Regions from separate parts of the Homo sapiens genome. Here region 1 is linked to region 2. The links are contacts of gene promoters, found by promoter capture Hi-C in human tissues and cell types (Jung and others, 2019). All regions are on one chromosome and are shown on one strand. Each heading gives the region's core, a stretch centred on a gene start or on the middle of the fragment in contact. The rest is flanking DNA. Distances are from core to core; before and after follow the strand shown. Region 1 overlaps JPH3 (junctophilin 3). Region 2 holds the start of SLC7A5 (solute carrier family 7 member 5).

Region 1 (4,796 bases), core at 307-2,806, 250 kb before region 2:
GCCACACAAGTATCTACTGAGCGCCGACTGTGTGCTAGGCAACAAGCTGGCCCTGGGGACAGTGGTGAACAAAGAGCCCTAGGACTTCTTGGTTGGGGGAATAGGACCCGTCAGTCAGCCCTGCACAGCTTCCTGCGGGGCACGGATGGGGCGCAAGGAAGGGGCTGGAGATGCCTTCTAGGGAGTGAGGCTGGTGAGCGGGTTGGGGAGGAACCATGGGGCCTCCCAGACTTCAGGAGGCGCATCTGTGAGCACCAGGGACAGAAGGAACAGGGCCACCCTGGGACCCAGTGCGCAAGGAGCCCAAGGGCCCTCACACGTCACCCTTGGGTGTGCCAGAGCCAGTCCAGTTGTTAAGAAAAACAAGAGCCGGAGGTAAACCCCTTGGGAAACAGAGGTCCCAGCCCACAGTACTGCGTGGGAGGGAGAAGTGTGGGAGTCACCTGGGCTCTGGGGTCCCTCAGGCCAGCAATGGGGACTGGGATCCCAGCGCAGGCTGAGCCTGGGTGGCTATGTCCACACTGCAGAGACCTATCGTGAGCAAGTTTATGGTGCATTCCTGTGTGGAAGAGTACAGCAGAGGCCAGGGGGGTGGGGCTGCAGCGACAGTGACCAGGAGTCACCCATAGGGGCAGGGTCCTGGTGTCATGGGCCAGAGCGGGCCAGAGCGGGGACGGGGGGCAAAGGGAAGGAGCATTTGAGCCTGGATGGGGGTGTGGTTAGCAGAGAGGTGGGAGGGGAGGGAGAGAGAGAGAGAAGGAGAGAGAGGGAGAGAAGGAGAGAAGAGAGGGAGAGGGGGAGGGGAAGAAGGAGAAAAGGGAGAGGGGTGGGCTGTGAGGAGAGGGAGGGGAAGGGCTGCAGAGGGGGAACGTCAGTCCTGCCATGGGGGGGACGTGCGTTGTTCCTCGCCCCTCCCTTCCAGGTTTTGATGGTGCTGTTTCCTGCGTTTACACCACAGCTCTTTTTGCGTCTTTCCTTGGATTCCACACAGCAGCCCTGTGAGGCGCTGTCCTCCTGCTGCCCGGAGGAGGAGACTGAGGCCAGAGATGCGGCAAATTTCCCAAGGCCACACGGTTCTGCTGTTGGGGCGGCACTGGGCCTCCCTGCCCGCCTGCCTCAGTCTGGCCCTGTGAAGAGGTCTCTTGGAACTGTTAGGAGCATTCGAAAGAAACTGGGCCCCTGGGCTGGGTACGGTGGCTCGCGCCTATAATCCCAGCACTTTGGGAGGCTGAGGCCTGAGCACTTGAGGTCAGGAGTTTGAGACCAGCTTGGCCAACATGGTGGAACCCCATCTCTACCAAAAAATACAAAAATCAGCCAGGCATGGTGGCGGGCGCCTGTAGTCCCAGCTACTCAGGAGGCTGAGACAGGAGAATTGCTTGAGCCCGGGAGGCGGAGGTTGCAGTGAGCCGAAATCGTGCCACTGCACTCCAGCCTGGGCAACAGAGCGAGACTCTGTCTCAAAAGGAAAAAGAAAAAGAAACTGGTCCCCTGGAGCGCAGGGGTCAGCAGCTAACTTCTCGCCCTGGCAGCTGGACCCGACTTGGCCCAGAGTGCCAGGGCCAGTGCCCCCATCTGCTCTGTGTCGGGAGGGGCTGCTGGCAGGAGGAGGTGGCCACTCCAAAATCCTATAGACGGAGTCCGGGGGAGGGGGTTCGGGACAGGAACAGCCCAGACCTGGGATCCGCGGCTGCGCAAGGGGCTTCAGGGTGGTCTGGGCCTGGTTCTGAGCCCTGTGAATCCAAGGCCACAGGACTGGGCCTGGGGGCTTCTGAATCCCCACCAGTGCCTTCTTGCTCTCAGGAGCGTTGGCCAACCCCCCAGGCCCCAGGGCTTCCCCTCGTGATTCTCCTCTGAGAGAAACACACCCACCTACAGCCGCCAGCCAGGAGCAATTGCTGTGCAAACACCCGGGACTGTCTCAGACGGTGGATGCAGGCAGCCAAGCCCCCGGAAGGCTCCGGTTGAAGGGCCGGGTTTATTCCTCCCTGCAATGAGGGTGGACACTCCCCCAGGAACCACGGGGCAAGAGGGTGTTGGGAAGAGCCCCACTAGGGTTTGGGGTTTGGGTGGGTGGTGGGGAGGGGACAGTCTAGGGACGTAGGGCTCACTAGACCAAGTGCTGTTGGAAAGGGGGCGATTCTCCTGTGGGTGCGTTGGTCACTGTCGCCTGTAGACATGGGAGACCTGCACCAAAATAATGCGGAGATGGGTCAAGAAGCAGCCGCCCCTCCCCTTAGTCGAGAGGGGGGATGGTTGGTGATCGTGGGTGGCACAGTGACCTGTTTCTATCTCACTCTACTGTGATCTCAGAGTGACCTTGTCTGGGGTCACTGGGGTGTTCTGGGAGATGGTTTATATCCAACAGAAGAACGACGCAGCCTGGCAGGAGCTCCAGGTGTCAGGGGGGGGCCCCTTTGGGGTGGAGGGGATGCCTCAGAGCCAGCCGCATGCCACCCCACAAGCTACCTCTCTGCCGCCGTCTGCCCCAGAGCTGCCTGCCTTCCGAGGCCTCAGCTGGTCCTGTGCGTCCCTGCGTCTCCAGGACTCTTGGGTGATGGCTCAGGGGAAGTTTCCAGAAAGCCCAGCCATTTCCTCCTCTCCTCCTGGGCTTGGGTCTGAGGTCAGCTTCCCAGGGGGCACCCAAGCCTCCGTGAGCAAGGACAGAGAGTGGCTGGAGTGAGAACGGGTGCTGCTGACCTTTGGCGGTGGGAGGGTGTCTCCAGCTGTGTTCCCATTTCTCAGTGACTACCAGGTGCTGTGGCCCTTGGCTGCAGAGGGGCGTGCAGGCAGCCTCTCCTTCCTGTGAAGCAGCAGCTGTGGCAGGGCCGGGAAGTAGAGCTCCCCTCTGTGAGGCTGTGGCTGGGGTAGGAGGAGAGCTCTCCCTTCTGCGAGGCTGTGGCTGGGATGGAAGTCTGCCAGAGGCGGGCTCAGAAGAAGTTCCATGAGGAACTGAGGGCTGGGACCTGCAGGAGGAGCTGAGGGTGCATGGGGTCTGGGGGAGCCCCAGAGATGGTCAGGGTCTCCTCCTGATAAATCAGACCCCCCCCCGCCCCACCCTGCCGCTGAGAGGCCTGGTCCTGCTCTAAACCTGGAGTGGATGGGGAGCGTGGGCTGGGGCTGGGGGGCTGGGGAGGTGGTGTAGCCAGTGCCCTGCCCCAACTCAGCCTCTGGTCACCCTTCCAGGGCTGGCAAGGCATTGGGGGTATGAGAGGGCCCTGGGGTCCCAGGGTCTCAGAGGACTTGCCTTCTCTGCGATGGCCGCTACTACCTGGGTCCCACAGGGGGGTAAGTTCAGAGGGGGACCTGGTGGAGGTCGGCTGTGGGCAGGGGAGCCACAGGAGTGTCCAGGCCCCTCCCAGGCCAGCCCCACAGATTCTGAGGCAGCAGTGGGGGCCTCAATGGAGGAGTCCACTCTGCCCACCCCGGATACTGCCCAGCCAGCCTGGGTTCCAGCGTGGGCCAAGCTCTCGTCCTGGTCTCCTGGGAGCTGTGTGGTCCTGCAAGGACCTCAGCACCTTCCTTGCTTTGAGCATCCCTCCCCCAAGGCCTGGCTGACACTCGGAGCCAGTATCCATAGAGGGCTGCAGGGGCAGGCGAGGGTGGACACTGATGTCCTTGGCTCATTCCTCCCTGGCTGGCTGCTCTGATGTCCAGCAGGGTGGGCGTGAGGCTCATGGGGGGCTCCCCAGCCAGGGCAGGACCTGGGGTAACCCTATCCTGGGATGTTTGCTCCCGCTGTGTGGGGGACATGCCGTTTCCATGAGTGACAGAGTCACCGATGTGGCCAGTACCACTGTGGGCTTGAGGCATCTTCTAGTTTAAGGAAATGTTAAATTTCAAGTAAAGCTTAGTGAAAATAAGGATGCAATTTCATTCCCCAACAAAACAACCTCTATTTCCTTCTGTGAACCCCTTGGGAGCTGCAGACCCCGAGTTCCGGACCCCCTCACCTCACTCTCCTCCTTCGGAGCCAAAGTGGTGCCTGAAATCTGAGGCCCCATCTCTGAGTCCTGCACTGGTCCTGGCCCGAACACTCCCCCACAACGCATGGGCCACAAGGACCCTCTGGGCAGATTTTGGGGTGTCTTTGGAGGTTTAGGGGCAAAGCTTGAAAACTGTGGGGTCCTCCCTGGGGACCACATGCCCAGCTGTGGGGTCCCCCGAGGCCGCAGAGCAAGCTTTCTGGAAGATCCTCCTCCTTTGAGAGCCACCATGGAGCCCCCATAATGGGAATGGAGGGTGTTGCCATTAAACATGGCCTTGGCGTTGCCCAGAAGTCTAGGTGTGTCCCTGTCAGCTGGGAGGGGACAGGGTAACTGTGCGGCCCTCCCCAGGGCTGAGGCTGGGGCAGCCTCCAGAGGCCAGGTTGTCGCTGTCACTCCCCAAATGGAGGGTCCCCCTCATTCCCTGATTGCAGAAAAAGGGCTCCAGTAAGTCTGGCTTTTAAAAAATACAGCTTTGCTGACATATGTTTCACACACCGTACAATTCACCCATTTAAACTGTACAGTCCAGTGGTTTCTAGAATATTCAGAGTTGTGTCACTCTCACCATAATCAATTTTAGAACATTTTCATCGTCTCAAGAAGAAACCCTCTAGCTAGCTACCCCTTCCCCATTCCCACGGCTCCCCACCCCTGGTGACCGAGACTCCATTTTCTGTCTTTGTGGGTTTGCTGCTCCTGACGTTTCGCATGCGTGGAGTCATACGCTGAGAGGCCTTTTGTGTGTCGCTTCTGTTGCCCAGCGTTGTTTTCAGGGTTCACCCGCGTGGGAGCTGCATGAGTCCACTT
Region 2 (4,277 bases), core at 1,180-3,679:
CCCGGCTAATTTTTGTATTTTTAGTAGAGATGGGGTTTCACCATGTTGGTCAGGCTGGTCTCGAACTCCTGACCTCGGTAGATCCGCCCGTCTCGGCCTCCCAAAGTGCTGGGATTATAGGCGTGGGCCATCACACCCAGCCAACCAGGGGTTCATTTTTTAAAGATAAGAGTGCAGGCTGCGTAAGCTACTATCCATGTCGTTACATACCGGGCCGACATGTACCTAGGCGGGAGGGAGACTGAACCAGTGAAATTCTAATGACAAAAAAAGAAATCAGAGTCATCCCCTACATTCACATCTCCAACGCCCAGCTGGAAGGCACAGGCTCTCCCCACTGCTGTCCTGCTACGATTTTTCCCGGCTTTGACCTGCATGGTGGTGCGGCTGCTCGACTCAGAGCCTCAGAGAAACCACACAGAGCCCTGCTGAGTCTTGCCCTCGGGGCATTCTCACATTTATGAAGAAATGCCTCCCCCTCCCCCTCCCCCCCAAAGTACGGTGTGGCAGAAAACAGCGCCAACAGGTCCTGCCAGTCAGAAGCCACTCCCCTGATTTCATGGCTCAAGACCCCAACTATAAATTAGCCCTTCCCACCTTGAATGTGTACACACACTATTGAGATGCAGGCCGATCCATGCCATGGGATGAATCTGAGAATTGCCAAGACCCACCTTCCCACGCCACCCAACCAAATCATGTGGCATCTGCTACAAGTGATTTTCCCCCTGAAATCCCACAAGAAAACTATTTTGAGGCCGGGCACGGTGGCTCACGCCTGTAATCCCAGCACTTTGGGAGGCCGAGGCGGGCGGATCACAAGGTCAGGAGATCGAGACCATCCTGGCTAACACGGTGAAACGCCGTCTCTACTAAAAATACAAAAAAAATTACCCGGGCGTAGTGGCGGGCACCTGTAGTCCCAGCTACTCGGGAGGCTGAGCCAGGAGAATGGCATGAACCTGGGAGGCGGGCTTGCGGTGAGCCGAGATCGTGCCACTGTACTCCAGCCTGGGCGACTGAGCGGGACTCAGTGTCAAAAAAAAAAAAAAAAAAGAAAGAAAAAGAAAAAGAAAACTATTTTGAAAAGCAGTTATCTCTGGCCTGGTGAAGAACACACCAGCACCATGCCCACCAAAACAGGAGCCCCATGGCTGTTTCCCAGAGAAACCTGGGACCCGCACGTCCATTCACTGCAACACAGACTGAATCTGCAGCCAAGCTCCGCTCTCTCACTACTGGGAACCCTCAGGGGGGATCCCTTAGCCTAAATCAGCACCAGTCACTACCCGCACACGATGTTATTACTACTGTTTTCTTATGAGTCAGCCCGTGTCACTGATTCCTGACGAGCTGGTGTGGAGAGCAGAAATGAATGATTTTTTTTTTAACTGCAATTTCCTTCTCACCAACCAGTCAGCAATCGGAGCTCTAACAGTAAACCGATTGCTCAGTTACTCCACGTGGGTGCCACGCAAGAGGCTGGGAGTATTGCTCAGCGGGGCCAACGGGAGGGTGGCACTTGCCTAAACCGCTTAAGTGGGGGAATGGAATGCCCACCGAAGGGCAGGGCAGGGACCCTGCTGTCCCGTCACTGAAGATATTCCCAGCCTGTGGGGAGAAGTGTAAAAGAATGAATGAAAGAAACGCACGTGGTTTCTGGGACCAATGACCTTAGCCTAGAACTGCCGGGATGGTCCAGGAACGTAAAGATGTAGAGATGTGGGAGCCAGGGGCGTAGTGATGCAAGGATGCAGGGACCCAGAGACTACGACCTCCCAACCCCCGGCCCGCGCCCCGTACTCACGCACGCAGAGGCAGGCCACGAGCTTGGCTGCCTCCTCGGGCACCGGGCAGGTGGGGAAGAGCGGCTTGAGCAGGTAGGTGGCGAAGACCAGGGCCACGATGTACTGCGATGAAGGCCGGATGATGAGCAGCTCGATCCAGAGCTTGAGGAAGGCGGGCAGCGAGCCGTAGACCTCCAGCATGTAGGCGTAGTCGCCGCCCGATTTGGAGATGGTGGTGCCGAGCTCCGCGTAGCAGAGCGCGCCCACGATGGAGAAGACGCCGCACGCGGCCCACACCACCAGCGCCAGCCCCGGCGAGCCTGCCTCCTTGAGCACGCCCGTGGGCGTCACGAAGATGCCCGAGCCGATAATGGTCCCCACGATGATGGCCACGCCGTTGAGCAGCGTGATGTTCCGCTGCAGGGTCACGCCCTCGCCCTCGCCTGCCGGCGCCGAGCCGTCCGCGCTCTTGGCGGCCAGCATCTTCTCCCGCGCCTCTTCCTTCTCCTCGGCCGCCGGCGCCGCTAGCGCGCGCCGCTTCGGGCCCGCACCCGCCATGCTCTGCGCACCGGCCGGGCCTGGGACACCCGGGAGCCGCGGCCCAGCGAGCAGTGTGCGCGCCGCCCGCCGCCCGCAGCTGCGTCAGGAACCCCGCCCGCGCCGCCTTTTAGGCCCCGGCCCGCCGGCCCCGCCCACCGTCCGCGGCTCCTCCCCGCCCCGTGGCCCGGCCCCGTCCCTCAGCCCCGCCCCCTCGGCCCAGCTCGGAGCACGTGCGTCGTCCGGCCCAGCCTGGCGGGCTATTCCCAGGCCCGCGTGGTCCTCGAAGGCCCCAGTCCTCCTGCGCCATGGAGACCCCGGCCTCGCGACCTCCCCCCTCCCGGCGCCCGCGTCATCCCAGCCCGTCCTCCCGGATGCGCCTGGGCGGGGCCTGGCAGTCAGGGCGCGCCCCTTCACCCACTGGCCCGCAGCCTCTCGTCAAGCCTGGGAGCGGGCAGTGCACCAGGGCTGGCCTGAGGCCAAGGATGGAGTTTGGGGTACCCCCCGAAGGGAACCTAGGCTCCTGTCCCGGATGGGCCGAGGGGATGGAACCGCCCCCACAACCAGCTCCTGGGGCACGGGGGAGGGATGAGAGGATGACCTGAGGGGAAGCTCCTGCAGCCTCCTTCCAGCCTGGGGGCTGCATCAGTGGGGCTGGTGAGCCGCGAACTGGGACGAGGGAAGAACCGAACCGAGGCCACCCAGTAATTCCCATTGTATCCCAAAAGAATCTTGCCAAAGACGGCGATCCGGTGCCCGTAGCTTTGAGAAGCAGTAATAACACAGGCTTTGGGAAGCCAGCAATCTGCCTGAGCTCAATTTAATCAACAGAACCGGGGGTTCGCTGGGAGCCATAAGACCCCCACCCCCAAATCTACCTGGGGAATTCAAAGGCAGGCTTCAGTGTGAAGGGGCTTTAAAGCTTGTTATTCCTAGGGAATGCGAGAGGCATCTTAGCTAAAAAGGGTTGAGAGGTAATTTCAGTTAGAGGCGAGAGCAGGATGCCAAGGCTCCTAGGCCTGGAAATGGGAAGGAATATAAATACTGCCCCGAGATTGACCAGACTGGTGAGCGGCCAAAGACCTGTTCAAAGGGTGTGTGTGGGTCAGGGAGGAAGCTCCTCAGTATCACCCCACCCCGGGGTTCCTTGGCGTGTGTGCAAACGAGTCCTTGGAAGCTCACAGCAGGCATGTGGGGAGGCCTTTGTTCTGGGTGAGCGTTCAGCCTCCCAGGGCAAACACGCAAACACCGGTTGCAGAGCTGGGTGTTCACAGCAAGACAGTCTGCTGGGCAGATGCCTCTGGAATCCACAGAATTCTGAACAATAGCCGTGGTGGAGGGGGGTCAGAATCCCTGTCGTGCTGGGACCTCTAGCTGCAGCCAGGAATGTCCAGGCCCCACCCCAGGGAGGGGGCGGCTGAGGAATGCCAGGGCTTGTCATTCTGGACCTTGCTCGCCCCCCGGTATGTCGGGCATTCCTCTGCGGTGATAAAACCGAGCGAAATCTCAGCAGCCCAGGCAGCCACAGGCGGGGGAGTGCGGAGGTCACACAGATACTAACTTGTAATCTGCCGTCCACATTGCTGGCTGTGGAAGGTGCAGAGACCCCTCCATCTGCCCTATTCTTCCCGCTGTGCCTGCAGAGGGAAGGAGACAGTACCACCATGGCTGGGCAAACTCACCGAGTGCTCACTGAGTCCTCCCCTAGACAGCTTCTTATGCAATAGGGTAGGTGCCAGTTAGAGCCATTTTGCAAATAAGGAAGCTGAGGCTTGGTAGGGTTACCTCGCTTGTCCGGCCAGCAAGTAGCCTGGGAGCTGTCCTTTTGACTCTGAACTTATATGGTACTTTTAATCATTCCACCATTCTTCTTTGAGTAACAAGAAAGGCAACCAACAGTCATACCCCAAAGCATAAAATTACAACCATGATAAGCCAAGGACATGACAGGGT

What was found. Contacts are between HindIII fragments. The study calls those that stand out against the background at their distance.
Region 1: a fragment that was not itself captured here is called in contact with the fragment with the promoter of SLC7A5 in region 2 in 1 of the 25 tissues and cell types used here (H1 embryonic stem cells).

What each region holds. Positions count from the first base shown.
Region 1 is chr16:87,619,697-87,624,492 of GRCh38, forward strand. The region is part of intron 1 of JPH3 (junctophilin 3); the gene reads left to right. Among named protein-coding and RNA genes, the nearest start is that of JPH3, 20 kb to the left of the region's middle. RefSeq lists enhancers at 1-598, 599-1,443. The HindIII fragment of the contact is 4,846 bases long and covers 1-3,979 here.
Region 2 is chr16:87,867,078-87,871,354 of GRCh38, forward strand. SLC7A5 (solute carrier family 7 member 5) reads right to left here and starts at 2,430. Exons shown (of 10, transcript NM_003486.7): 1 at 1,808-2,430. The coding sequence starts at 2,345. RefSeq lists a silencer at 2,394-2,743 and enhancers at 2,984-3,743, 3,188-4,277, 3,744-4,277. The HindIII fragment of the contact is 6,482 bases long and covers 1-4,277 here.